Linked DNA regions of Homo sapiens: regions 1 and 3 are each linked to region 2. Evidence: promoter capture Hi-C in 16 types of primary human blood cells and fetal thymus (Javierre and others, 2016). All regions are on one chromosome and are shown on one strand. The core of a region is centred on a gene start or on the middle of the fragment in contact, and the rest is flanking DNA. Distances in the headings are between cores, read along the strand shown. Region 1 overlaps KIFC3 (kinesin family member C3). Region 2 holds the start of CNGB1 (cyclic nucleotide gated channel subunit beta 1). Region 3 overlaps KATNB1 (katanin regulatory subunit B1).

Region 1 (4,653 bases), core at 698-3,197, 200 kb after region 2:
TATTATAACACGATCTGGTCCCAGAACCCACCTCACAGTGGGGACTCAGGAACGTCATCCCAAGAAGCTTTGTGCCCACGGCCCAGCACACAGGCTGTGCTCAGTAAGCTCTACATGGCACTTGTCACTGTCATCACAGAGGCCCTCTCCTACCTTCCTGAGGGCACGTGGCTTGGGCACCTGATGTGTGCTCAGCACTGGGTTGGTGTTGGAGCCAATGCCCAGAGCTCACAGCCCTGTAGGGGGAGGGAGACAAGGCCATTCTGCCCCTCTGGGTGTGCACATGTGTGTGTGCATGTGTGTTCATGTGCATGGGAGGTGACCAGTTTCTTTCTCGGTGTGGCACCTGCCCCTCTCTCTCCCGCACCTCGAGGTACTGAGCCTTTTCCTGGTCTGGCCAGATTGCCATGTACGAGTCAGAGCTGGAGCGGGCCCATGGGCAGATGCTGGAGGAGATGCAGTCCCTGGAAGAGGACAAGAACCGGGCCATTGAGGAGGCCTTTGCCAGAGCCCAGGTGGAGATGAAGGCTGTGCACGAGAATCTAGCAGGTGAGCTGACCAGCTGGGCCCTGTCTGCCCCACGCCGCGGCCCCTCATCCCCTCCCGCCTCACAGCCCGAGTGTCCCCATAGGCGTCCGGACCAACTTGCTGACCTTGCAGCCGGCACTGCGGACCCTCACCAACGACTACAATGGGCTCAAGCGGCAGGTGCGCGGCTTCCCACTGCTGCTGCAGGAGGCCCTCAGGAGTGTCAAGGCCGAGGTGAGCGAGGGCAGTGGGTGGGAGGGTCCAGGCTAAGGGGGTGCACTGGGAGAGGCACGACATCCACTCAGGGCGTCCCTCCAAAGCTCAGACAAAGCCGCTCAGACAGCAGCCCCTGCCCCACCCCCCATGACACTTACTGCTGCCCTTATAGGCCCTGTTTGAAACTAGACTGCTCAGGGCAGGCATTCGGCTATTTGTCTTACTATGATTCTTTAAACCAAACATGTTACAGATAACTTCATATTTCAAACATGCAGGCCAGGCGCGGTGGCTCACACCTGTAATTCCAACACTTTGGGAGGCCGAGGCAGGCGGATCACTTGAGGTCAGGAGTTTGAGACCAGCCTGGCCAACAAGGCGAAACTTCGTCTCTACTAAAATTACAAAAATTAGCTGGGCATGGGTGGCAGGTGCCTGTTAATTCCAGCTACTCGGGAGGCTGAGGCAGGAGAATCACTTGAACCCAGAAGGCGGAGGTTGCGGTGAACCAAGATCATGCCACTGCACTTCAGCCTGTGTGACAGCGAGACTTTATCTCAAAAACAAACAAAAAACATGCTACATACGTATTTTTTAAAAAAATTATTTATTAGAGACAGGGTTCATTATGTTGCCGAGGCTGGTCTTGAACTCCTGGCTTCAAGCAGTCCTCCTGCCTTGGCCTCCCGCAGTGCTGAGATTATTGGTGTGAGCCACCATGACTGGCCGATACAGTCTTACCTCTGTTAGGTTTAACTTAATTCTTTCAAGCTGTACTTGTACATATGAGAATAACCAGTGCCTCTTAAGTGCCTCCTACATGTCGAGCTGTTTATAGCCGTTAGCTCCTTGAATTTGTATGATAGCTTTGCAAAGACTAATATATTTTGGGAACAGAATATAGTTCTTCTCCTTTAAAAGACTATATCAGTAATACATGGACGTGGTGAAAAGTCAAACTCCATAGCAGGGCATCAGGTGAATAGGAAAGGCCTCTCTGCCACCCACCCAACTCTTCCAATGTGGCCTCTCAGCATTTCCCCCGACTGTTCTGAGCATGCTTAAGCCAATTGTGCGTGTGTGTGTGTGTGTGTGTGTGTGTGAGAATATATGGTAGGCCCTTCCCCCATCCACAGGTTCTGCATTCCCAGATTCAAACAACCACAGATCAAAAATAGTTGAAAAAAATTAACAGTACAACAATTAGAAATAATAGAAATAAAAAATAACATATAACAACTATTTACACAGCATTTTTTTGTTTTTGAGACAGTGTTTCACTCTTGTTGCCCAGGCTGGAGTGCAATGGCGGGATCTCAGCTTACTGCAACCCCCACCTCCCGGGTTCAAGCGACCCTCCTGCCTCAGCCTCCTGGATAGCTGGGATTACAGGCGTGTGCCACCATGCCGGGCTAGTTTTGTTTGTTTGTTTGTTTGTTTTGTATTTTTAATAGAGGCTGGGCTTCACCATGTTGGCCAGGCTGGTTTTGAACTCCTGACCTCAGGTGATCCGCCCACCTCCGCCTCCCAAAGTGCTGGCATTACCGGCATGAGCCACTGCACCCAGCCCCTACCCAGCATTTTCATTGTATTAGATATTATAAGTAACCTGGAGATGATTTAAAGTACATGGGAGGGGCTGGGCACAGTGGCTCACACCTGTAATCCCAACACTTTGGGAGGCTGAGGCAGGAGGAGCACTTGAGCCCAGGAGTTCAAGACCAGCTTCGGCAACATAGTGGGACCCCATCTCTACAAAAAAATATAAAAAAACTAGCTGAGTGTGGTTGCCTGCACCTGTAGTCCCAGCTACTCGGGAGGCTGAGGTGGGAGGATTGCTTGGGTCTGGGAGGTCAAGGCTGCAGTGAGCCAAGATAACACCACTCACAATGAGTTTCCACCACATCCATGGAGCTGTGATTGCACTTCCAGCCTGGGCAACAGAGCAAGACCCTGTCTCAAAAAAAATAAAGTATATGGGAGGATGTGTGTAGGTTATAGGCAAACACTATATCATTTTATATCAGGGGCTTGAGCATCTGTGGATTTTTGTATCCTCCACGGTTACTAAGGGAAGACTGTATACACTGTATACACTTCCCTTCTACTCCAGAAAGGGGATGTGTGATTTGTGTACAGTGTGATACTGTATGTGTGATTTTGCATCTTTTTTCTACCTGTGAAATGTAACTGGGAGATCTTTACAGATTCATGAGTTAGATGGTATTATCCCTGCTTTCCAGATGAGAAAATTGAGGCTTAAAGACATTGAGCCAGTGGTCTCAGGTCCCCAGCTACTCAGGGGCAGAGTTGGAATTTGAGTCTGGCTGAATCACATAGTCAAGCACTAGTGCTGTGGTGTGGAGGGCTGAGTCCTGGCTCTATGCTTATTAGCAGAGCAGCCTCAAGCTGTCAGCTTAGTGTCTGCGGCTCAGTTTCATCATCTGTAAAATGGGGATGGTAGCAGTACCTACCCAGAGGGGTGATTGGGACAGTCTGACATGTGACAGCGTGTGTCAGGTACTCAGCCAGGGGCAGGAGGCAGTGAGCACCCCTCAGGGGTGGGCAGTCAGGCCGGTAAGGCTGATGGAGCCGTCCCCCTGACAGTGGTGTGCACCCCCCACCAGATAGGCCAGGCCATCGAGGAGGTCAACAGCAACAACCAGGAGCTGCTGCGCAAGTACCGCCGCGAGCTGCAGCTGCGTAAGAAGTGCCACAATGAGCTCGTGCGGCTGAAAGGTGACTGCAGGAGGGCTGGGGGTGGGCGCTGGCCTCGGGGTCCTCGACCTGGCTTGGCAGTCATGCTTGGAGCTCACCCCACCATTGAGGCACTATTCTAATCCTATCTCTGTAGATAAGGAAACAGAGGCACAGAGAAGGCAGGGAACTTGCTCAAAGCCACATGGATATTAAATGGTCTGCCTTGGATTTGAACTTGAGTCTGTCCAGCTCAGAAGCCCTGGCCCCAGTGCCTGGGCAGGTGACTCCCCAGGCCCTGGGTAGCCGAGGGGTGTGGTGTTGCAGCATTGGGTTGGTGGCAGCTGGAAAGCCGCTTATTCTGACCTGGGGCCTGGTCAAGCTTGAGACTCCACCATTCACTGCATGGAGCTCTAGAGTGCCTGCTCTGTGCCAGGTGCCGTTCCAGCCCGAGGCTATGGTCGTGGCCCCACAGACTGCCTCCCGGTGCACACTTTAGTGTGAGAATCAACAATGATGATTGTCAGGGAACCCCAACCCTGCCCCCTTCCAGGGCTGAGACAGGCTTTCCTGGGTATGGGACAGGCAAGTGTGTTGAGGGGCTTCCCAGAGAAGGCAAAGTTAGAGCTGAGACCTGGACAGTGAGCTGGAACGGATGGGTGAAAAGGGAGGGCAGGTGGGCCATGCTGGCAGTGGGGGGTGTTTCCTCTTCATTCCAAGAGCACAGGGATCCCAACAAAGGCTGGAAGTAGATGGCGGCATGACCAGCTCATGCTGCCAGATACCCCTGTGGCTGCCCCACTATCTGGGCCCTCAGATACACCACCAGTCATCACCTGCTGCCTGGGCCTATATGCCCATCTGATTCCTAAGCCCTGTCCTGCCATTCAGGACAAGGCTCTTTGCTCATTGGGGCCCAAGCCCCTCATTGTCTGGATGAAGAAACTGAAGTCCAGGGAGAAAAAGAGTGTCCGTTCTGGTGTCTCACCCTGACGGGGTGCAGTGCTTGAGCCCCACAACTGACCTTTCCTCCCCATCCCCAAGGCAGAGCTCCACCCCAGTCAACTGGTCTGTTCAAGAAGAAATGTACTAAGTGAATTCATACTATAGTGTGAATGACGGATAACAGCTTTGTGGGCCCCCTTCCCCTAGGGGGCTGTGCTTAAAAGTCAGGGGACTCCTAGGTCAACTAGTCTGCCTGGGACACCAGTG
Region 2 (4,656 bases), core at 477-2,976:
AGGCTGCAGGCAAGGGCGAATGTCACCTGTGTTAGTCTCAGGCCCAAGCAGAGCAGAAGGGCTTGCTGCTGTTCCTTGGGGAGGAGCTCTGACCCCTGCAGCCTGGCATATTTGTAGGGAAGGGTCAGGGAGTACATTGAGCTTTACCGTTGGGGTCTGGCCTTGCTGGCAGAAAGAACTTTCTTGTGAATCACTTGCCATGTAGAGGTTGCATTATCAGAGGTCTTGAAGCCCAACACTGGAGGGGAAGCCAGGGGTCATCCAGTCACCAATCAGCTTGTCCCTCCGCAGCCTCCTGACCAGTTTCCTGTTTCCATGCTTGCCTGCTACACAGAGCCACACAGATCATGCCCAGCCCCTGTTCAAAACCATCATCTAAAACTACACTCCTTCCTGTGGCTTACAGTCTCACAACATCTGCCCCTGCCCTCTGTCAACCTCATCTCCCACCACTCTCCCCTGCACCCGTTAAGCTCCAGGCTCCCCGGTTCCCATTCTGCTCCTCAAGGCTCATTCCAGCCTCAGAACCTTTCTCGTTGCAGTGTCCTTGGCCTGGAGCACCACTCACCCAGCTTTTTTCACAGCTGAGTCTTTCTTACTTTTCATGTCTCAGTTCAAATATACATCCACCTCGTCATAGGGGCCTGCCTACCTGCCCCTACTGCCCTCCACAACATGCTTCTGCCCTGTTTGTTTCTTTTATGGCACTTAGCATAATTTGCAATATTCTTTATTTGTCAGTAATCTCCTCCATTGGAATGTAAGCTCCATGAGGACAGGGCCTATGTCTGTCTTGCTCAGTGTGCCAAGGCTGGCACACTGCCAGGCACAAAGGAAGAGCTCTAGGCCAGGTGCAGGGGCTTACATCTGTAATCCCAATACTATGAGAGGCTGAGGCAGGAGGATTGCTTGCATCCAGGAGTTTGAGAGGTTGAGGCTGCAATGAGCTGTGATTGCACCACTTCACTTAGCCTGAGTGACAGAGAGAGACTGTGGCTTAAAAAAAAAAAAAAAAAAAGGAAAGGAAAGGAAAGGAAGAACTCTAGAAATGGTGCGGATAATTAAGTCAAGTCCTGCCCTTTGCCAAATATCCCTCAGGGCCACCACACTGAGCCCCTCTTCCTTGGGCCCTGTCCCTTGCACCCTCTCCTCCTAGATCTCTGTATCCCTTCAAGTGTCCAGCCTCAGTTCACAGGGCAGGTCAGATGCCTCAGTCATCTGCCGGGTCTTGGATCCATCCTCAAGGCCCAGGCCTGGGACACAGCCTTTCTGGCAGAGCCCAAGGCAGGGCTGCTGAGACCCTGCCCAGAGAAGACTCTAAGCCAGAAAGAACCTGCCTGCGTCCTGGCCTGGGGGCTGGAGAGTTGGGGTACACCTCTTGCCACCGCTGAGTGGGAGCTGACAAGCCCCTGCTACCATGAGGAGTCTCCAGGCATCACATGGGAACTCCAAGCTGTTATTCTCCCATCAGCCACTCCGTGTCTTGGCCAAGGTGTATGGGAAGCCAGGCCCCTGGTAAGCCGGGCAGGTCCCCTGGCAACCCATGGTGCTCCAAACCTGGGCCATGCAGGAGCCCTTCCCTGGGGCCCACATCCTTGCTGGACCCTGGGAGTTGGGAGGTGCTGCTGGTTTCCTGGGCATCAACAGCCTCTTTTCTCCCCCTCCCCCATTCAGCACCTGCTAATCCTTTGCACACGGCCCAGCTACTGCCAATTAATCTTCCTTGTGTCTGAGGGGCCAGCTACGAGTGGCAGCAAGAAGGCAATTCCTGGCTGGCGGTTGGCATCTAAGCAGGTAACTCAGGGTGAGGTGGAGGCTCGGTGGGACCCCGAGGGGATCCCCATGTTCTCCCTCTAGAAAGGCATTTAGGTAGGACCAAACTGGCACGGTGGGAAACCTGTGGCTTCCCTCTATCTGGTGGAGCTTGGACTTTAGCGGGCATCAGAATTTTCAGGACAGCTTGTACAATGCAAATTCCTAGGTCCCCCAGGAGGACTTGGGGGACCTAGGAATCTATATTTTCACTAGCTCTCCAGAAGACTCTGGAAATGCTGGTGGTGCAACACCATGGCTCCCCGAGCTGCCACTCGTGGGTCCCCCTTCCCACCTGAGCCTCCCTCATCAAAGTGCAGTCAGCAGGGACACGGGTGAAAGATGGGAGGGACCTGCAAAAATTCTCATTTAGGAGGAAAAAGAAAAATGGGGGATCGGGGAGGCTTCCTTAGTCATTTCCAGAAGGTTTAGAAATGCAAGCGAGAATTGCTGCCTGCTGGGAAGGGTCTACAGGCCTGGCCCGCGGAAGAGGCCAACACTCGGCAAATGCCACGACTACCTGGGAATACATGTGGGGCAGCTGGAATCGGGCAGACCTGAGTGTAAACTCAAGTTGGCCACTGCCGGCTGTGCTGCTTCAGGCGATTCTGTTGACCTTTCTGTGCTACATAATGAAAATTCTTATTTTACTGAGTGCAGGGGCTGGGCGGGGCGTGGTGGTGAGAGCGAGGATGAGTATGATCATGGGTAGAATGCACTTAGCTCAGCCCTGGCTCTCGGGGCTGCCTGGGGCTGGCTGGGGTCAGTGAAATCTGCTATCCCAACATGTGAGCTCTGGCAGTCCCGACCTGGGAAAACATTGTGTCTGTGCCCCCACCTTCAGGGAAATGGAAGACCAGAGGGGTCATGTCTGGCCCAAGTTCATTTTTTGGGAGGCTGAGCCAGGGATCTGACACTTAGAGCTGTGTTCCCACCACAGCCTCTCGTGGGAGAGGCTGGGCTGCTGATGCCAGAGTGGGAACAGAGGTCAGGGCTGTAAGTAGAGGACAGGCAGCACAGCCGTGGGCTCTGGGGAGCTGGGCTTGGGGGCAAGGATCCTGGGCCTGGGCTGCCCTCTTCAGCTGGGGCCAGGGTCCCTGGCAGAAAGGGGCATACAGACTCTCTGCCAAAGCCCGGGTTGCCCATGGCTGGGAGAGGGGTGGGGCACACTCATGTGGGGCAAGAACACATCTAGGGCTAGGAGTTAGCACACACTGACCTGCACGCTGCGCACTGGCCAGGCCATCCTGCAGGGGTTCAGTCATAAGGGCTGGGGCTCCCCATTCCCCAAGGAGAAATCAACCAGAAACAACCTGTACTTAAGGTAGGACTGAAATAACACAGTATATCATGAAAAAAGTCTTACCTGGCATTTTATCTTTTTCTTTCTTTCTTTTTTTAAAATATAGCACTATAAGCATTTTATTTCAGTTTTGAGACAGGGTCTTACTCTGTCGACCAGGCTGGAGTGCAATGGCTGAGTGCAATCTCCACCTTTTGGGCTCCAGTGATTCTCGTGCCTCAGCCTCCCGAGTAACTGGTACTACAGGCACGTGCCACCACGCTGGGCTAATTTTTTGTATTTTTGGTAGAGACAGGGTTTCATCATGTTGCCCAGGCTGGTCTCGAACTCCTGAGCTCAAGCGATCTGCCTGCCTCAGCCTCCTGAAGTGCTGGGATTGCAGGTGTGAGCCACACCATGCCCAGCCTTTTTGTTTGTCTGTTTGTTTTTGAGAAGGAGTCTTGCTCTGTCACCCAGGCAGGCTGGAGTGCAGTGGCACGATCTCGGCTCACTGCAACCTCTGCCTCCCGGGTTCAAGTGATTCTCCCACCTCAGCCTCCGGAGTAGCTGGGATTACAAGTGCACACCACCACACCCAGCTAATTTTTGTATTTTTAGTGGAGATGGGGTTTCACCATGTTGGCTAGGCTGATCTCGAACTCCTGACCTCTGGTGATCTGCCTGCCTTCACCTCCCAAAGTGCTGGGATTACAGGCGTGAGCTACCACAACAGGCCCATTTTTTTTTCTTTTTTTGAGACAGGATCTTGCTTTGTTACCCAGGCAGAAGTGCAGTGGCATGATCACTGAAGCCTCGACCCCTTGCCTCAGCCTCCTGAGTAGCTGGGACTACAGGTGCACACCACCATAACAGGCTTTTTTTTTTTTTTTTTTTAAATAGAGACAGGGTCTTGATATGTTGCCCACAGTGGTCTCGAACTCCTGAGCTCAAGTGATCCTCCCATCTTGGCCTCCCAAAGTGCTGGGATCACAGGCATGAGCCTCTGCACCCAGCCCATTTTATCTTAAAAATTAAAAAATGATGAACATAGGTTAAGTTTATCTTAAGACAGATTTTCCACTCATGTAATTACTCATAATGAATATTTTTACTTATAATGAGATTATGTAGTACATGCATATTACACAATTAGTGTTTTCATTTGATACCATGTAATAGTCATAGTCAACATTTATTAAGCCCTCGGCATGTGCCAGTCACTGTTCTGAGTATGTTACATTTATTATTATTATTATTATTTTTGAGACAGGATCTCACTCTGTCACCCAGGCTGGAGTGCAGTGGCACGATCTTGGTTCACTGCAACCTCTACCTCCTGGGTTCAAGAGATTCTCATGCCTCAGCCTCCTGAGTAGCTGGGATTACAGGTGCCTGCAACCATGCCCAGCTAATTTTTGTATTTTTAGTAGACAAGGGGCTTCCCCATGTTGCCAGGCTGCTCTGGATCTCCTGACCACAAGTGATCCACCCACCTCAGCCTCCCAAAGTGCTGGGATTATAGGTGTGAGCCACTGCCCTTGGCCTGAGTATGTTACACTTAT
Region 3 (4,650 bases), core at 108-2,607, 220 kb after region 2:
CTTCACCCTGGGAGCGTGAGGCCAAGCCCAACGGAAGCAGGTGCCCTGTGAGGCCCAGGGCTGGAACTCCGAGGCTTCCCCTGTGACAGTCCCTCTCCTGGGCCCCCGAAGGCCCCCCAGGCCCTCACCTCTGAGGCTTGCTGCAGGTTGTGCTGGGCCGCTCATAGATGCGCCGGAGGGGGGCGCTGGGGTTGGGCAGTGGCTGTGCCAGGGGCCGGTGGTCCTGCACAGGGTCCCGGGCCACCGTGCCAGTCCTGGTGACACGCGTCAGATCCACCACGTAGGAGGAGACGTTGCTCTGGGAGAAGGCCACACCTATCTGCAGAAAGCGGAGAGGTGGGGCTGGGACTGCAAGCCGAGGGGGCAAAATCCCAGCCCCAGTGTGGGGGTAGGAGGAGGGGCCTGGGCTGGAGGGAGGCGGGTGGCCCTGTGGGAGTGGGGGGCGGTGGGTGCCATGGCTCTCTCACCAACTGGTCATTGCAGATGGCCAGGTCGGCCACCTTGCCCCAGTTGACGAGGACCACATCAAAGCACCGCTCAGGTTCCCAGCCGTAGACACGCAGTGAGTCCTGGCAGCCGCTGTACAGGCAGCAGCCGTCTGGGTTGAAGAGGACGCTCCTGGGCCAGGCGAGAGATGGCCGTGGGTCCTGTGGCACCCAGCCTGGTCCCCACCCCGAGGAATCCAGAGGGCCCAGGGCAGGGAGGGCGCAGCAGCGGAGATGGGAAAGGCCCACCCACAGCCACGCCCCACTGCCGGGAGGAGCGCTGGGCCGCCCACCCCACAGCCTGCGTACCTGACGGGCCCAGGCTCCCCTTCGATGCAGCTCACCACCTGGAACTTCTCCAGGTCCCAGAAGCGGATTGTCCTGCAAAGGCAGCCAAGCTGTGCTGCGAAGCCTATCCCTCATCCTGGCCTCCACATGTCCCTGGGAAGCCAGCTTTTCTCTAGAAACCTCTCCCCCAGGGCAGGGCCACCAGGAGCAACATCTGGGGCAGAGCTGGCCCTGACTTTGCAAGGGGGAGGCTCGGCCCGATGGCCCTGGCCCCAGGGTTGGCCCCAACAGCCACGAGCCTCCCTGCCCTATGGGGTCCCACTAGATGCCTTGGGTCCCAACCTGCCCATGAAGCCACAGACCTGGGACACTGGGGCCAGGGAACCAGAGCCAGGGGAGATGGACCAGGGTCCAGTCCTGGCTCGGCTGAAATCCAATTCAGTCCACACAGGATCATCAGACGTATGACACCCCAGACAGCGACAGACCGGCAGTAGAGACACGCACAGAGGACAAGGCGGTGAAGGACAGCAGTCACAAGCAACTCGCCTCGCTCCTCCTCCTCACCTGTCAGAGCTGCCGGAGGCCAGGAGGTACTCGTTGGGGTGAAACTCGACCACGTTGACAGGCCCCGTGTGACCAGGGAACTCAGACATCATCTTGCCGGCAGTGAGATCCCAGAGCTGGAGGCAGGGCAGGGAGGAGGTCAGGGTGACCAGGCATCTTGGCTGCCCACCCTCCCTCTAATCCAGGCCAAGCTCTTTATCCACAAGCTACCTTCCACTCGGGATAGGCTTGGGACATGTGAGCCCGATCAGGAGGGAGGTGAGGACTCAGCCTGCTGTGATCAGCAGACCCCAGCCCCCAGCCCCTGGGCCCAGGTCAGGCCGGGAGCTACCTTCACGGTGTGGTCATCTGCGGCCGACGCCAACCACTTCCCATCGGGGCTGAACCGGAGACACCGCACGGCCTGGCTGTGCCCCTGAGGGAGGACACGGCATGAGCTCACCCTGGGATCCTGGGCCCAACAGACCTCTCCCTGCCTCCTCACTCCTATGGGACCCCTTCCATCTAACAACACTGGTTACCCGCCTGGTTCTGCTTGGAGCAGTTTGATGAACGTGGCTCTAGGGGATTCATGCAGAGCCAGGGGATCCAGGTGGGCCGCCCATGGCGCTCCTGCTCAGCTCCAGGTCTATGTTTTATGTTATCACCCATGTGGGACAGCCGTCCCCTCCACCCCCTGCTGGGGTCTGGGCACCACACCACACTCAATGCCCGCAAGGTGCTCATGGAGTCACCGACAGAGCGCATCCTTACCCTGTATCGGAAGACACAGCCTTTCCTCCTGATGTCCCAGAGCTGTGGGGGAGAGAGAAGCAGAGGGGCAGAGTCAGGAGAGGTCAGAGCCACGACTGGAGGAAGGTGTGCAGTCGTGAGCAGACGGTGGGGCCCAGCCTTCTCTAGGTCGTTACTCCCCACGGAGACAAGGACAGAAACTGCTCACTAAAGCTGGCATTCTGAGCAGAAGCATCTGGCAGATAGATGCCTGCCACCCGCTTTCCCTAGGATGGTGTGGATGTGGCTGCAGAAAGGGAAGAGGTCCCCTCAGCAGGCATCCAGCACTGAGGGCCGGGCCGGGCTGGTCCTGCCACAGGCCCAGCAGGAGACACGGGGCACGGACCGGCCTCTCACCTTGATGTTTGTGTCCTGGGAACCAGAGGCTACAAACTCGCCGTACGGGTGGAAATCCAGGCTGCAGATGTTGGCTTTGTGTCCCATGAGTGTGCGAAGAACTAACAAGAAGGAAAGCAGAGACAGTGGCTAAGAGGCAAATGAGAAGGCTGGCAGAGGAAGGGCTGCTGTGGGCATTTGTGTGTGCGCTTTTGGATTAGCTGCACAGAAAAATAGAACAATAACACACATTTTTAAAACAGTAGGAAACAATCAAGGGTCCCACCACCCTAACAACGAATTTTCTTTTCTTCCTTTTTTTTGAAAAGGAGTCTTGCTCTGTCGCCCAGGCTGGAATGCAATGGCGTGATCTCGGCTCACTGCAACCTCTGCCTCCCGGGTTCAAGCAATTCTCCTGCCTCAGCCTCCCAGGTAGCTGGGATTACAAGCATGTGCCACCACACCCGGCTAATTTTTTTATATTTTTGGTAGAGATAGGTTTTCACCACGTTGGCTGGGCTGGCCTCCTGACCTCAAGTGATCCACCCGCCTTGGCCTCCCAAAGCGCTGGTATTACAGGTGTGAGCCACTGCGTCCTGCCAACAACTAATTTTCCCACATTTCTCTTGAGAGGTGACAGCCCTATGTTACCTCAAGTCTGCAGAAATTGTACCACACTCTCCCCACAGACTGTGCTCCAGCGGAAGCAGAACCAGGGAACCACCACACTCAGTTCAGGCCCCATGGGTGTGGAGCTTATGGTTTGCAGGGCACTGAACCCCACCCAAGACAGTGCAAGGAGAGAGACAGACCAGGAGAGGTTCAAGCTGGGAGAGAAGCTGCTTGGTTGGAAAGAGAAATCCAGGAAGGCTTTATGGAGGAGGTGGTATTTGAGTAGATGTCAGTGGGTGGAGGATGAGGGATGCTGTTAGGTAGATGGAGGTGATGGGCAAAGGCCCTAAGAAGGGCAAGTGGAGGGCATGGCTGGGGTGGCCCTGGTGCACACACCAGTCTTCTTGGGTGACCTCTGTCCAAGGGATCTTGAGGGTGGCTGTGAGGACACACTGAGGAGCAGTGAGAACTGAGAGGACACAGGGAGGACACGCGAGGACCAAAGAACTCCTGGGGTGGGGCCTGATCGCCTCCCACTGCCCTAGGAACCACATCTCCTATCCTTTCCTTGAAGGTTTTGCAGGCATCTCCATGGCCAGGAGCGGCCCAGCCTGGAGGCAAACCTTGTGTGTTTCAGGGTGTCCTCCAGTACCACTCAGATTTGTCTCATGTTTCCTGCTTTTGGAAAGATTCATAATTCACTATCTGAATGAAACTGACCATCCCAAGTGCCAGGGTCAGGAAATGTGGGAGTCCAGCCATTCTTAGTTTTGAGCCAAGGTGCAATAGGTCACCTTGTGAGGTAGTGAGCTCTCTGTCAGAGGAGGTATTCAAGATTCCATATATAACACTTTACTGCAGAGTCAAGATCCAAGCACTGGGTGAATTAAATGAACTCTACTGTATGATCTTCTCTACCCCCAAAGTCAGGATGTGGGCTCTGGCATCAGACAATACTGGGATCAGCCTTGGCTCCGCTCCTCACTGGTGGTGTGACCCTGGCCAATCACTTACTGTCTTTGGGCCTCATGTTGGGTCACAGAATGGAGTAAACATACATAAAGTGCTTAGCACGGGCTCTGCACATGGTAAGTGCTCAATAAATGCCAGTCTTAATTAGTCCCATTCACATTTCTTCCTGCACAAGGCCTGCCTTCTGCTCTTGGCTGTCCCGCAAGCTGGGCCTTCTCTCCTCCTCCCCAGGCCTCAGTGCCCCTCTGCAGCTGGCCCTGTCTGGCGCTGGAGCTGGGTCTGGATACTTTCACATCCCTCTGGAGTCTGTCGAATGCATATCCAATTCACCTGCACCAGAATCTCTGCAGCTGTCACTCCTTGCTCCGTGTAGCTATCAGGTGCTGCTGGGGGCTGGGCATTGCCTCCTGGCCAAGGAGGCCACGCTGGCTCTTGCTCCAGTCCACACCCGCTCCCAGCCCACTCAGCTTGGATCCCACAGCAAGGCTTCCAAAATCCTGCCCTGCCCAGAGAGGATGTGGCGGAGTCCCACCCTGTGTGGGCTGGCTGCATGAAGCACCGGCCGCCCTCCTGTGAGATCCCGTGGGATCCCCTGCGCTGAGCTACCCTTGCCCTCTGG

Evidence for each region. Contacts are between HindIII fragments. The CHiCAGO score rates a contact against its expected background, and 5 or more counts as called.
Region 1: a contact is called between a fragment that was not itself captured here and the fragment with the promoter of CNGB1 in region 2, in 1 of 17 cell types (neutrophils). The highest score is 8.7, in neutrophils.
Region 3: a contact is called between a fragment that was not itself captured here and the fragment with the promoter of CNGB1 in region 2, in 1 of 17 cell types (neutrophils). The highest score is 5.9, in neutrophils.

Annotation. Positions count from the first base shown.
Region 1 is chr16:57,765,704-57,770,356 of GRCh38, reverse strand. It overlaps KIFC3 (kinesin family member C3), which reads left to right. Exons shown (of 20, transcript NM_001130100.2): 8 at 402-549; 9 at 632-762; 10 at 3,372-3,483. Among named protein-coding and RNA genes, the nearest start is that of MIR6772, 4.3 kb to the left of the region's middle. The HindIII fragment of the contact is 3,756 bases long and covers 70-3,825 here.
Region 2 is chr16:57,968,198-57,972,853 of GRCh38, reverse strand. It overlaps CNGB1 (cyclic nucleotide gated channel subunit beta 1), which reads left to right and starts at 1,726. Exons shown (of 33, transcript NM_001297.5): 1 at 1,726-1,794. The HindIII fragment of the contact is 12,254 bases long and covers 1-4,656 here.
Region 3 is chr16:57,748,746-57,753,395 of GRCh38, reverse strand. It overlaps KATNB1 (katanin regulatory subunit B1), which reads right to left. Exons shown (of 20, transcript NM_005886.3): 5 at 2,469-2,569; 6 at 2,094-2,135; 7 at 1,672-1,755; 8 at 1,341-1,456; 9 at 795-866; 10 at 468-618; 11 at 129-319; 12 at 1-7. Among named protein-coding and RNA genes, the nearest start is that of KATNB1, 15 kb to the right of the region's middle. The HindIII fragment of the contact is 8,006 bases long and covers 1-4,650 here.